Linked DNA regions of Homo sapiens: region 1 is linked to region 2. The links are contacts of gene promoters, found by promoter capture Hi-C in blood cells and fetal thymus (Javierre and others, 2016). All regions are on one chromosome and are shown on one strand. Each heading gives the region's core, a stretch centred on a gene start or on the middle of the fragment in contact. The rest is flanking DNA. Distances are from core to core; before and after follow the strand shown. Region 1 overlaps SLIT3 (slit guidance ligand 3). Region 2 holds the start of SLIT3-AS2 (SLIT3 antisense RNA 2).

Evidence for each region. Contacts are between HindIII fragments. The CHiCAGO score rates a contact against its expected background, and 5 or more counts as called.
Region 1: a contact is called between a fragment that was not itself captured here and the fragment with the promoter of SLIT3-AS2 in region 2, in 4 of 17 cell types (M1 macrophages, M0 macrophages, M2 macrophages and 1 more). The highest score is 7.8, in M1 macrophages.

Annotation. Positions count from the first base shown.
Region 1 is chr5:169,285,295-169,292,317 of GRCh38, reverse strand. All of the region lies in intron 1 of SLIT3 (slit guidance ligand 3), which reads left to right. Among named protein-coding and RNA genes, the nearest start is that of SLIT3, 12 kb to the left of the region's middle. The HindIII fragment of the contact is 1,890 bases long and covers 3,398-5,287 here.
Region 2 is chr5:168,703,235-168,709,735 of GRCh38, reverse strand. It overlaps SLIT3-AS2 (SLIT3 antisense RNA 2), which reads right to left and starts at 2,809. Exons shown (of 7, transcript NR_130737.1): 1 at 2,469-2,809; 2 at 1,089-1,299. SLIT3 (slit guidance ligand 3) reads left to right here. Exons shown (of 36, transcript NM_003062.4): 26 at 1,636-1,760. The HindIII fragment of the contact is 12,206 bases long and covers 2,575-6,501 here.

The DNA.
Region 1 (7,023 bases), core at 3,093-5,592, 580 kb before region 2:
ACCAACACAGGATATGACGCATGTATGTGTGTGTATGTTGAATGTGTATGTATATGTGTGTTATTCTCTCCTGGTAAAAAGTTCAGCCTGAGGGATTGAGCCTTTCTGCCAGTAGCAGAGCTCAGGTAGCTTCAGGTTTTTAAACACAGTGATTTCCCTTAGCATCTTGGGTACACATTGGCATCGGGCACATTTTCTGGAGTAGTTCTGGGAACAGACATGATGAAGAATGAAGCATAGGGGACCAGGGCCTACAGGGTCCCCAAGCCTCTGTAAACGACAACAACAACCATCACCACAACAATAGCTGGCATTTATTGAGCCTTTCTTTGTGCCTGGCACTGCTCTTACACTTTACATGCGTGGAGTCATTTCCTATTTGAAGAGTTATGTGAAGTAGGCAGGACTGTCTGCATTTTATAGATGTGGCAACTACGTCAGAGAGGTGAAATAACATCCCCAGTAAGGAACAGGAGAGGCAGGGTTCATCCAGCCAGGCTGGTCTCAGAGGCTGCACTCCAACTCCCAGTCATGTCATCCCTTCCAGAATCTTTCAAGTCAGCCTCCTTTTCTGTCTTCTAAACTCTATTCTCAAGTAACAACTAGAAGAAGACAAACATGATGAGTTCAACTTAAATCAAAGAGCCCCTGTTCGAGGCAAAGCATCAAGAAGAATGTCAATGATGTGATCTGGACACCTGGTGAAACAGAGCCATCATGTCCAATTTGGGGAAATAGGTGGCCTTTGTATTGGAGCGTGAAGACTAATGGGATCCCTGTGCGTAGAAATGGGAACGTGGTACAGTCACAGAAATTCATGATTAGATGCTCCTGAGCCCAACTTAAAATGATGGGAGCTGCACTTTGGGAAGTTTTATCTCATGGGGATGTTTAGAACAGAATCCAAATCTTAGGAAAATATCTCCATGGTATGTGTCCACTAACTGTTTTTTAAATTTCTGGTTTGAGGGGATACACCCTCCAAGAGTAGTTCTGATGAACCTTGCTGAATAATATTTTCCGCCTCAAGCATCTACTCAAATGTCGGCAGGAGTCATCTTCCTTTGCAGTTAGATGCACCACTTGCTTTCTCTTAGCCGGGATCTCTGGGCTCCTCCCACCCTGGCATCAGGTCTTGTTCCAACAGGATGTACATAAGATGTATCCTGGCTGGAGTCGAGTGTGACTGCACTTATCACGGCCATATCACTGCTTGTGTGGGCTCAGACTCCTCTTCTCTTGTCCTAACTGCCAATCTGGTTCCTGACCCCTGATTCATTCCGCACTTTGGCAGCAGTGTATCCTGTGGCTCCTGAAAGTCTGCCAGCACACTTAACCACCCACCTTGTCTACCTCTTGGGTTTTTCTACCTCTCTAGCTCCTGTCTGTTACCAGTCATATCCATTCTTTGCCCTAGCACGTGCCCTAGTGTATTCCCTAGTGTACACCCTAGCGTATGCCCTAGCATGTGCCCTAGCGTGTGCCCTAGTGGGTGCCATAGCATGTGCCCCAGTGTATGCCCTAGCGTGTGCCCTAGTGGTTGCCATAGCATGTGCCCCAGTGTATGCCCTAGTGTGTGCCTTAGCGTGTGCCCTAGCATATGCCCTAGTGCGTGCCCTAGTGCGTGCCCCAGCATGTGCCCTAGCGTATGCCCTAGTGCGTGCCCTAGCATTTGCCCTAGCATATGCCCCGCACGTGCCCTAGTATATGCCCTAGTGTATGTCCTAGCATGTGCCCTAGTGCGCACCCTAGTGTGTGCCCTAGCGTATGCCCTAGTATGCGCCCTAGTATATGCCCTAGCGCATGCACTAGTGCGTGCCCTAGTATGTACCCCAGTGTATGTCCTAGCGTGTGCCCTAGCATGTGCCCTAGTGCGCAACCTAGTGTGTGCCCCAGTGTATGCCCTAGTGTGTGCCCTAGTATATGCCCTAGCGTGTGCCCTAGCACATGTACTAGTGCGTGCCCTAGCATATGCCCCAGTGTATGCCCTAGCGTGTGCCTTAGCATGTGCCCTGGTGCGCGCCCTAGCGTGTGCCCTAGCATATGCCCTAATATGTGTCCCAGCATGTGCCCTAGCATGTGCCCTAGTGCGCACCCTAGCGTGTGCCCTAGCATATGTCCTAGTGCACACCCTAGCATATGCCCTAGCATGTGCCCTAGCATATTTCCTAGTGTGTGCCCTGGCGTATGCCCTAGTGCATCCCCGAGTGTGTGCCCTGGCGTATGCCCTAGTGTACGTTCTAGCATATGTCCTAGTGTGTGCCCTGGCGTATGCCCTAATGTACGTTCTAGCATATTCCCTAGTGTGTGCCCTAGTGTATGCCCTAGTGTGTGCCCTAGCATATTCCCTAGTGTGTGCCTTAGCGTATGCCCTGGTGTATGTTCTAGCATATGCCCTAGTATGTGCCCTAGCATATGCCCTAGTGTGTGCCCTAGTGAATGCCCTAACTCAGGTATGTCTGCATGCTGTGGAGTCCATGATCCTCTTCTAATCGGAGTTTTATGACTTGACCATAGAATTGTGCATGTTTGCATCTCTCCCTGAGCTTTAGCTACTCCTGGCTCCTGCCTTAATCCTTCTAGCTTGGCTTCTTGCCCTCTACTGCCCTCTATGTATTCTCCATAGCCTTAGTATTGAATTTGGACTGTCACCATCAGAACCCCAGGTCCTGAAATTGGATTTCATGGCCTGGACCTTCACTGGAGACTGCAGACTTGCAAGAACTCAGAGTTCTGCCCTGGAAACAACCTCAGACTTCGTCTTTATGGCCATCTGAAATCTTTTATCATGTCCAGGGTAGCATGTAAAAGTGCCCCAGGGCTGGACTCTATAAATGATGAATTACTTAGACATACTCCTGAACTCCCTGTATCCCAAATAGGACAGATCATTTTGTAATTAAAAAGCGCAGCAGTGATGATCTCATTGGAGAGCTGTCCTGTTCAATAATGTGTTGCAGAAATTTCTGGACTATCTAGTACTTTGCTGACATTCTTTCTCTCCTCTTCTTCTCTCTCCAGCTCTAGAATGTAGGTAGAAAGTGTTCTGAGTATGGGGATTCTAAGTGGAATTAGTGAGAAGCCAAGGGGGAGTACAATTTGGATGTAAGCCGAAATGAGTAGAAAGACCTAGGCTGAATCCTGGCTTCTGTCACTTTCTAACTGCCCGACCTGTCTGAGTACCTTTGCGGTCTCCATAGTCTCATCTATAACCTTTGGAATGGGAGAAATAACACTCATCTCAGGGGGCTGATGCAAGGTTTAAATGAGATCAGATGTCTCCAAATGCCTTCTAAATTTAGTGCTATGCGAATACCTTAATGAGTCCACCCACAATATCTGAATTGAACCACTAAATCCTGTATCTGGAAGACGATCAGGGTATATTTTAGAAGCTTTCATTTACAGATGAAGAAACTCAGGGAGCTCCAAAGCCTTGCTCAGAGTCACCCATGTCTTCAAACTCTTGTTCCAGTTTCCTTTTCATTTAACAAGATGCATCTTTTACAAATTAAAATATAACCTCATACCAGCCATGTCAGCAGCTTAACCAGGTGGAGTTTAGAGGACTGGGTAATTAATAAGTGACAGTGTCCAAGACAGTAGGACCAAATAAGGGAATCCATGAAGGATGGAGTCATTTAAAGGGGCCATTTATTGAGTGTCTACCACAATGAATAAAGCAAGTGAAATGTTCTGGTAACTAGAACAGTTCAAACTAACTTCAAAGTTAGTCTGGACTGTCTCTCCCTCTAAATGACTGACAAGGCAAAGGCTACCATGCTAGGTTCAGAGCAGGGAGATTTATGGGTTGGGAGAAATGCTAGAACCATGAAGGATGTAGCACCAAACCCTCAGGAATCATTGATGAAAGCAAGCCCCCTCATCCCTTTTAGTGGGTACAAATATGTAGAAAGCCTCCCACATCATAAAAAAATAGTACAAGTGGAATTAAAAAAAAACTCAAGGGGGAAATATTAATCTGAGAACAATTGTATCTGAGAAAGCATTCAAGTATGCCTCTGCAGCTAGCTGGCAAACAGCACAAGTTCTGCATTTTATTAGAGTTCTAACTCTGTGTAGAACACTGACCTTATTTGAGAAGCATTTCATAAACACTGACACACAGCACAGCAGCATTTGAGGCCATGAGGAGATACAGGGCCTTCTTTAGGGGGCCAGCTTCCCTTCCCCTCCTCGGCTGCAAGGGACCCCTAGGACATTGTTTCCCTGAGTGGTAATATCTTTATTTTTCTCTCTTAGGTTTAACTCAGCAGGAGGAATTTTCCTAGGGGAAAATGAGGGAGGGGGATTTGGAATAAAATTTGTACTTTGGGCAAGTTTGCCTAAGCATGGGGTAGGCGATGGGGAAGACCCTGCTCTGGGAGAAAGGGTCTAAGAACCTTCACTTGGCCAGTGGAGTTTCTTTTTGGAGATCTCACCTGGTGCCTGGAGACCTATGCTGTGGCTGTGTCAGAGGCAGGTTCTCAGGCAGCATTCACCAGGTCCTTTGGAATGCAAGACTTGTGGCTTGCAACCGCCCTGAGAAACGCGTCCACCACATCCCCTCCTGCTAGAAGCTGGCACCTCCCTTTCCATCTGCTGCCAGCGTACAAGTTCTGAATTTGTGCCACAGAACTTGGTTCTGTTCCTCCCCCTCTTGTTGGCTTCCCTAGCCAAGAGATTTTCAGGCTTTTGAGGTATCACTGGAGATCATCTGGTCTACTCCCTCCCCACTGATCTCAACCCATCTCCAAAGGGAAATGCATTAGAAAGGTCACCAGAGAGGACCTCAGCTTCCTGGTGTGGTCTGCCCTTATGAAAAGGTGCCTTCATTTCTGCCTCATCCTGTGCAAAGATCATGCAGAGCCATGGGAAGCCTCTGCCAATCTGGGAAGCTAGGGAGACAGAAGAGGGACCACATCTAGTACAAAAAAAAATAGGGAATCATGTGGAAGCAGAGGGGAGAGGCACCAGATGGGTGACTCGGGATGGCAGATCATATCCTGAGGGCTCTCAGCACCAAGCCTGCAGCTTATTTCGAGTCTAGAGAGGGAAGATCCCAGCTGAAGAAAACGGCAAGGGAAGGAACACTGGGAACCAGGACTGGAGCAGGAATCCAAAAATGGGAAGGCCAGTTGCTTCATGGGAGCTTTTAATGACTCTAGTTCCCTACCAACACCCCTCCCCTTCTAATTGCTTCATAGCACAAGATGGTAACCAATCTGCTCTGTTTACTCTGTTTAGGCATACATTTTAGTACTTTCTGAAACATTTCCCATAAGCTTCCCCCTGCCGTGTGCCCTCCTTGTACATTCTAGAAATTTTGCAAAGACCTAAGTCTCCTCTGGGTTCTTTCCTGACTGGAGCTGCATGCTGATTCAAGCCATATTCAGTCAGGAAGCTCTCTTCCCGTCTTTAAAACAAGAAACATCTTCTTCCAAGAAGACTGCACTACAGTTTTCTTTGTCTGTGTTGCTAACGAACAAAGAGGCCCCATTGCAAAACAGCATTTCACGAGCAGAGCAGGGCTGATAGCACCTCTTGCCAAATGTGACTGTGTGTAGTTGTGTGGGGGGAAAATAGCTTTGTCGAGAGGAGGGCCGAGGGAGGCGGCTCTGGGGAATTTTTAGCAACTGCAGCATGGTGTAGTGGAAAGAATGCTTGCCTGGGAATTTGGCGACCTGGCCGTACCTCTGACACACCATGTGACCTTGGACAAGTCATTTGACCTCCCTGGGCCTCAGTTTCCTGATCTTTAAAGGGGATGAGGGAAGTAGACTGGATGATCTCCAAGGATCCTTTCAGCCCTATGCATCCTCACTTCTGGGGGCTGGGATTTGGGGTTTAGACCTGAGCCAATATCCAATTCAAGAGACTTTCTAGAGGCAAGAGAGAGGCCAGGACAGCTGCTTCGGGAAGTGGCTGGTCCTTGATTAAGGCTCAAATAATTAGCTCAGCTCCACAGTAAGCCTTCTGAAATTAAGAAAAAAAAAGATGTTTAGTTTAAAAAAATAGCAGTCGGTGTTTCTTAAAACTGATTGGCTTGGGGCTTTGTAGGTTTTATTCAGAGACATAATTTTGCTTCCTCTATAGTACAGCAGTTTAGATTATTGATGCTTTGATGCTGGAGTTAGTGTGACCTGGTTTTGAATGCCATTAGTAGCTAAGTAATCTTAGGCATGGTCTTTAATAGTAACCTGCTTCCCTGGCTTACTAGGAAGATCAAATGAGGTAATACATGTCAAGCTTAGAGGACAGTGTCTGGCATTAAATAATCACTCCAAAAGCCATTATTATGGCTATATTTTGCTGCTTAACAATCCACCCCAAAACTTAGTGTTCTAAAGTGACAACCATTTTATCATGCTCAATGATTCTCTACGTCGTAGTGCAGTAGAGATGGCTTATTTCTGCTCCATACAGTCTGAGGCATCATCTGCAGAGTCTGGAATGACCAGGAGAGACTTGAATACCTGGGTGCTAGAATCCCCAGCAGGCTGTTCACTCACATGTCTGGCACCTAGGCTGGGATGACTTGAAGTCTGGGCTCAGCTGGGACTGTTGAGCAGGGTGTCTACACATGTGACCTCTATGTGGCTTGAGCTTCCTCACAACATGGTGGCCTCTGAGTAGTCTAACTTCTCACATGGTTGCTCCACACTCTGAGAAGAGGTGTGCAGCAACTCAGAACAACTCAGAAGTAGCATGGCTTTTTATGAATGGACTTAAAAGCAACATAGTACCCCTTCTGCTCTGCTCTGTGGCTCTGAACAGTACAAGCTTGCCCACATGCAAGGGTAGGGGTCATCTCTCCATGTAAGAAGTCTCAGAAGTTGCAGCTGTGTTTTAAAACCTCCACAGCTATATAGTTATGATCATCATTTTTCTGTACCATATAATCTAATCTCTTAAGTAGACAAAAAGTTCCTTGAGGACAGGAGCTGGCATTTCTCTATAGAAGCTTAGTACAATGCTTGTGAAAATAAGACAAAATCAACATATTTTCAAAAATCAAATTGA
Region 2 (6,501 bases), core at 1,560-4,059:
CTCATCTCTGAGAGGCTTAATACTTATTTTGATATATAGATACACTTTAATTACCCTCTCAAACTTTAGTGTGTCCTACACTTCTGCTGCAAGCAGAAAAACATTCCATTGGCTTAAAGCTAATTTTAATTTTCCTCCTCCTGCTTCTAAGCTATCTGATCTGATACTAAAGAGGCTCACCTAGGCCAAGAACAGTATAGGTCTCAATCTTGGCTGCACATTTGGACATCATACAGGAGCTTTTAAAATTACTGAAGCCTGGCTCCACCCTCTAGGTTTAGATTAAATTGGTCTGGGGTACAACCTGGGTGTGGGGACTTTTAAAAGCACTGCAGCCAGGGTCCGGGCACGGTGGCTCATGCCTCTAATCCCAGTACTTTGGGAGGCTGAGGCGGGCAGATCACTTGAGGTCAGGAGTTCAAGACCAGTCTGCCCAACAAGGGGAAACCCCATCTCTACTAAAAATACAAAAATTAGCCAGGTGTGGTGGCGCATGCTTGTAATCCCAGCTACTTGGGAGGCTGAGGCAGAACTGCTTGAATCCAGGAGGTGGAGGTTGCTGTGAGCCGAAATTGCACCACCACACTCCAGCCTGGGCAACAGAGTGAGACTCCATCTCAAAAAAAAAAAAAAACAAACAGAAAACAACACTGTAGCTGGTAGTGTAAGGCAGCTAAGTCATCTGGGTTTTGTCTGGGCCATTCTTGGTTTTAGCACTGAAAGCTCTGTGTCCTGCAAACCCCCTCAGCCCCAAGCAAACCAAGACAGATAGTCTTCCTCTTCTAATGTGAAGTCGGGTTGAGCCCCTGGTACCAGCTCTCAATCAGGCCATTCTTTTTACTCATCCACAAACAGTCACTCACTGAAGTTCATCTCAGCCCATCTCCAAGTTGATAACTGTTAACCCCAAGGTCATTTATAGTCCTGACACTAAATATGGCCTGTTTATCCAGGGCTCATTGTCAAAGCTGGCTGCAGCAGCAGGACACAGCCCCCTTTGCAAAGCTCTGGGAAGGACCCTGACCTCCCTCCAGTGCTCGCAGCTAAAGCAAGCACACGGCTGAAACGGTCACAGACGTAACATGTACCTGAGCAGTTTTCTGTCCATTGTCAGCATCATCGCTGTGTCCTCTGGGGCCATCCATTTCTTTCTTCCAAGGTTTTCCAGGGGGGACTTCCTCTGTGTGCCTTTGGCCCAAGCACTGTGCCCTGCTTAGCCTGGCACAGACTATTCCATGGGGAGGGGTGTTTGTGGGTAGAAAAATGGGAGGTCCGAATGGAGCCTGGGCCCAGAGCTTCCTGGAATATGAAAAGATACACAGGGGGTTTCTAATTATGGTGCATTGTTTGCAGATTAGCACCAAAATCGGATCAGGCTAATTACAGTAATTGATTTGACTGCAGAAGTGTTTCTGAATGATGTCCCACTGTGATTTTTCCTCACTGGACAGTGGCTGAATTAATGGGACTCTAGCTGGACTGGATGTGCTGGCTGAGGAGAGCCAGCTGCCATCTGGGCATGGAGTTGGGAAGGGGCTGGCGCTGGCTGAGGGAGGGCCCAGAGCAGAGGGGAAGGGAGGTATGGCAGTGAGCGCACTCAGGACCTGCCATCAGTACTCTGGTTTTGCTGCCCAGGGCCAGTGGACATCAACATTGTGGCCAAATGCAATGCCTGCCTCTCCAGCCCGTGCAAGAATAACGGGACATGCACCCAGGACCCTGTGGAGCTGTACCGCTGTGCCTGCCCCTACAGCTACAAGGTATGCTGGAGGCCCTGCCCCCCCGTGTTCATGCCTCAGGCTCCTCCTTCAGCCCTGGCCCTAGAGAGGGGCACCATGCCCTGCGTACCCTCCCTTCTCCAAGGGACAGCCTGGATGAGTCCATCGCACAGGTCACCACTCCAAAGCAGCATTTGCCAGTAACACTGTTCTCTGAACTAGCGGGAGCTGCCAGTCAGAGAGGCCCCCATATGGTCTTGACAAGGATGTCCAGAGAGAAAGAGGAAATGTAACATTTGTATTTTCTTTGTGAAACATGGAGAAATTAAGTCTCAGAGAAAAAGTGTTTCCAAGTAGAGGCATCCCTTGAGCCCACTCTCCCAATTTCCCTTCTAAAGGGATTTCCAGAACCTCCACCCCACCATGCCCCTGCCAAACCCCACCCTCAGAGCAACCAGCCTTGAAAGTGCTGGTTCCAGCTTGATGTAAATATAGGGATTGGGGATTGAAAGGCCTAGGGGCTGCAAACTCACCCAAAAGGTTGATCGGCTAAGATCAGCCAGCAAGAGGATGAGATCCCAGTTCTCCCCTCTGTCCTCCCAGACTACCTCCAAGACAGTCCTTCCTTCTTTCACCCAGAGCACGGTGTCATGCCCCTCTGCTGACCCCTGTGGATATCGACCATGTGCCTCTCACCAGCACCTACCGAGTACAGACTGTGCCAAGTACTGTGCTTGGCATTTTACTCACCTGTTCAAACACCCCCAGCAAACCTAAGAAGGCCTCATTATTCCCTTTTTACGGATATGGAGACTGGGCCTCAGACTGTCAAGAGTTCAACTCAATGTCCGAAGCTTGTAAGCAGTAGAGCTGTGATTAAGACCCTGGGCTTTGTGATTCCAGAACCCAATCCTTTTCCCCTGGAGGGTTTCCTGGATAGCTGAGCCCTTCCTTGGGCTTCACTGGAATCAGCAAAGCTGTGGCTCCATCCTCTTCTGCAGGGCCCGCCCAGCTTCCAGCCTTCCCAGGGCACCCATCCAAAGGCACTGGGCAAGCGCAGAGTTTCAGGACAGCCCCACAGCCTGTCTAATGCACACATCTGATGCAGGTGGAGTGAGAGTGAGCTGGCATCCCCAGGTCTCTGCCCCCAGTGGGATTGTGTGTGCGTAGTGACAGGCTTAGAGGCAGCCTCATTCTGGGGAATGGGACTACCTGATGTATTTCTAGACGATGGCTGTGCTTCTAGCAGATGGTGTCAGAGTGCCACCTATGGGCCTGGGACAAGAGAGCCAAAGGATTCCCTTTGAAGCCAGCCACCTCCAAAGTCTTAAACTTACCACTGAGTCCCAGACCCATACACCGTCATTTCATAAGCTGATTATAAAAATCAGAGAAGAGACTAAATGCATAAGGTCCAGATGAGTGCCTGGCCTTTACTGATGATTCAAAAGAGAACTATACTATGTATGGAATTGAGAATGTTATAAATTCAGTCACAGGGCACCCACACACACAAAAAAAATAATAGGAGGGGAGAATAGAGATTAACAGCAGACATACTCAGGATGTGTGGATCCTCTCAAACTCCCTTGTATGGATTCAGCAGAGAAAATTCAGACTGTGCAATTACACAGAGAAGCAGGTGTGGATTCCAGCTTTGTCATTTACTAGCTGTGTAGCCATTGCTAGTAATTTCATCTGTCTTCCCAGCTGCAAACTAGGACCTGTCTCATAGGTTTGCCGTAAGAATCAAATGTACAGTAATGTACGCAATACACTAGGATGATACCTGGCATTCAGTGAGCACTCAATAAGCTGGCATACTGCTGCCTTTCACCTTTACCCTTGCATGGTGGTCCCTCATACCTGGGTGTGGAATAGGCCATCAGTAACAGGTGGTATGTTGCTAGTTTGATCCAGGATTATCAGTCTATGGCACTGTGAACTGCCAAGAAACTTCAGTCATTCTCCTAGAACTGTGACTGCATTTGTAACATTCTCAATTCCATACATAGTATAGTTCTCTTTTGAATCATCAATAAAGGCCAGGCACTCATCTGGAGCTTATGCATTTATTTTCTTCTCTGATTTTTATAATCAGCTTATGAGATGGGTAGTATCATCCCCATTCTAAAGATAAGGTAAACTGTTTCACATTCTGATTCTTGCTTCCTTCTCTTTAAAACTGGCCTGAGTCTGAAAGTAGTAGAGCTGGGTTTGAAGTCCAGGCTTCTTCCAGCTACACTTGACTGTACTATGAAGCATGACCTGACCGTCAGTGTCAGAGCAAAGAGAGTATCTTCAGAGCTACTGCAGGATAAGGCCACTTGTTTGAACTTTGTTCTCAAGATTCTGAACATCATGTCAATTTTAGAAGAATGTGAACAGAGATTTTGATCTTGAGGAAAGTGTTGAGCCCAGGCAGGTCTAGGGTGCATGATGTTGATGGTGATGGTGAAGATGATGATGGTGAAGGTGATGATGGTGATGGTATCGGTGATGATGACAAAGGTGACAATGGTGATGGTGTTGATGATGGTAATGGTGCTAATGGTACAGATGGTGGTGATGATGATGATAACTATGATAATAACAGTAACATAAGAGCCAGCATTTATTGAGTATCTACTATGTACTGACAGTAGACTAAATAAGGTACATGTATTATCTTGCATACTCCTCATCAGAGCCCTAGAATACAGTTCCTAAAATGACCCTCATTTTACAGTTGAAGAAACTGAGCATGGTAGGTAAGGGAGTTGGGATTCAAAGCTCAGAACCAACTGACTCTAGAAGCTGTGCTCCTGGCCACTGCACTCACTGCCTGTTGGCAAGTGCAGTGATTGCAGGGGCTAAGGTGGAAGATCCCTGACTATTTAGGACCTGTCTGAATTTCCAGGTTAGAGACAAGTAGAGTGTAGCCATGGGAAGAACACCAAGCAGGACCCTCTGGAGCCTGTGCCTATGTGATGCATGACCTTGGACAGAACTCGCTCTTCTCCTCACCTCAGTTTCCTCAGCTGTAAAATGGAGGAGGTTGAACCCAAGGGATCCTTTAACTGAGGGTTGCATCAAATTCTCTGTGCTATGTCCCTGCTTTCCTTCTTGCCGGGGTTAGAGCCCGCCCAAACAGAGCGACTAAGATGGTAGTTCTGCATGAGTGGCTAACAGAAATCCCCAGATACCCACAAAACCAAGCTCAAAGTTCAGGCATTTACCTCTTTCCAGGTATCTCCATTTTCCCATTGACTAGCTGAGTGACCTTGGGAAGCCACAATATTATAAAAAAGCACAGGAATCACTGTGTAACATTTGGTAGCAGCTACTCTTAATCTACTATAATGCCAGGCCTTTGTGAAGCAGTTTAAACACATTATCTCTTGTAGTACTCTTAATCACCTTGTGAAATAAGTTTTATTATCGTCTTTTAATAGATGAAACAACTAAGGTTCAGAAAGATGAAATAATTTACCCAAGCTCTCACACTTAGGAAGTGCATGAGCTACAACCAGAGCTCAGCTATCTCTTGCAACAAAGTCTCTACACTCACAACCACTCCAAGTCAGATTCTCCCTAAGCCTCACTTTCCCCACCTGTAACTGAGAATACTCATACTCATGTGCAGGGCTGTTGGAAGGATGAAAAGGGGCTGTGTGTGTACTTTGCCTACCTCAGTGCCAGGATTCAGTAGATACTTCACAAAGGGTCAGTATTTTGCCATTATGTTAAGATTTGGGGAAAAAATATATCTGTTGGCTGATTCTTTTTCAGCCATTTAGTTTCAGGCACATATGTTCAATGTCTCAGAACAGTGCTTCTCAAACTTTTGTGTGCATAAGAATCACTGGAGAGCTTATTAAAATGCAAGTTCTAGTTCATTAGATCCGAGGTCAGGCCTGAGAGTGTGCATTTTTTTTTTTTAATCAGCTCCCAGGACATGCCAGTGCCACTAGTCCAAGGAGCACGCTTTGAGAAGTAAGGACTTAGCAGCATTCCTCGTGCGATCTCAGAAAGAGGTTTCCAATGAGGGCAGCTGTTCCCAGTGTCTTTTTTTTTTTTTTTTTTTTTTTTTTGGAGACAGAGTCTCACTCCGTTGCCAGGCTGGAGTGCAGTGGCATAATCTCGGCTCACTGCAACCTCTGCTTCCTGGGTTCAAGCAATTCTCCTGCCTCAGACTCCTGAGTAGCTGGGATGCCCACCACCACGCCCAGCTAATTTTTGTATTTTTAGTAGATACAGGGTTTCACCATGTTGGCCAGGATGTTCTCAATCTCTTGACCTTGTGATCCGCCCACGCTGGCCTCCCAAAGTGCTGGGATTATAGGCGTGAGGCACTGCGCCCAGCCCCCAGTGTCTTTTAAAGGTTGATTCCCAACCTTTTTGGCACCAGGGACCAGTTTCATGGAAGACAGTTTTTCCACGGAACTAGGGTGGTGGGCATGGTCTCAGGATGAAACTGTACCACCTCAGATCATCAGGTATTAGTTAGATTCTCATAAGGAGCGTGCAACCTAGATCCCTCGCATGCACAGTTCACAGTAGGGTGTGTGCTCCTATGAGAATCTAACGCCACGGCTGACCTGAAAGGAGGCGGAGCTCAGGTGGTAATGCTCCCGCCCCATCTGCTCACCTCCTGCTGTGCAGCCTGGTTCCTAACGGGGACCGGTACCAGTCCATGTCCCAGGGGTTGGGGACACCTGTTTTAAAGGAAGCCAGTCAGGATTCCTGGCCATGTCCTACACACACACACACACACACACACACACACACACACACACACACA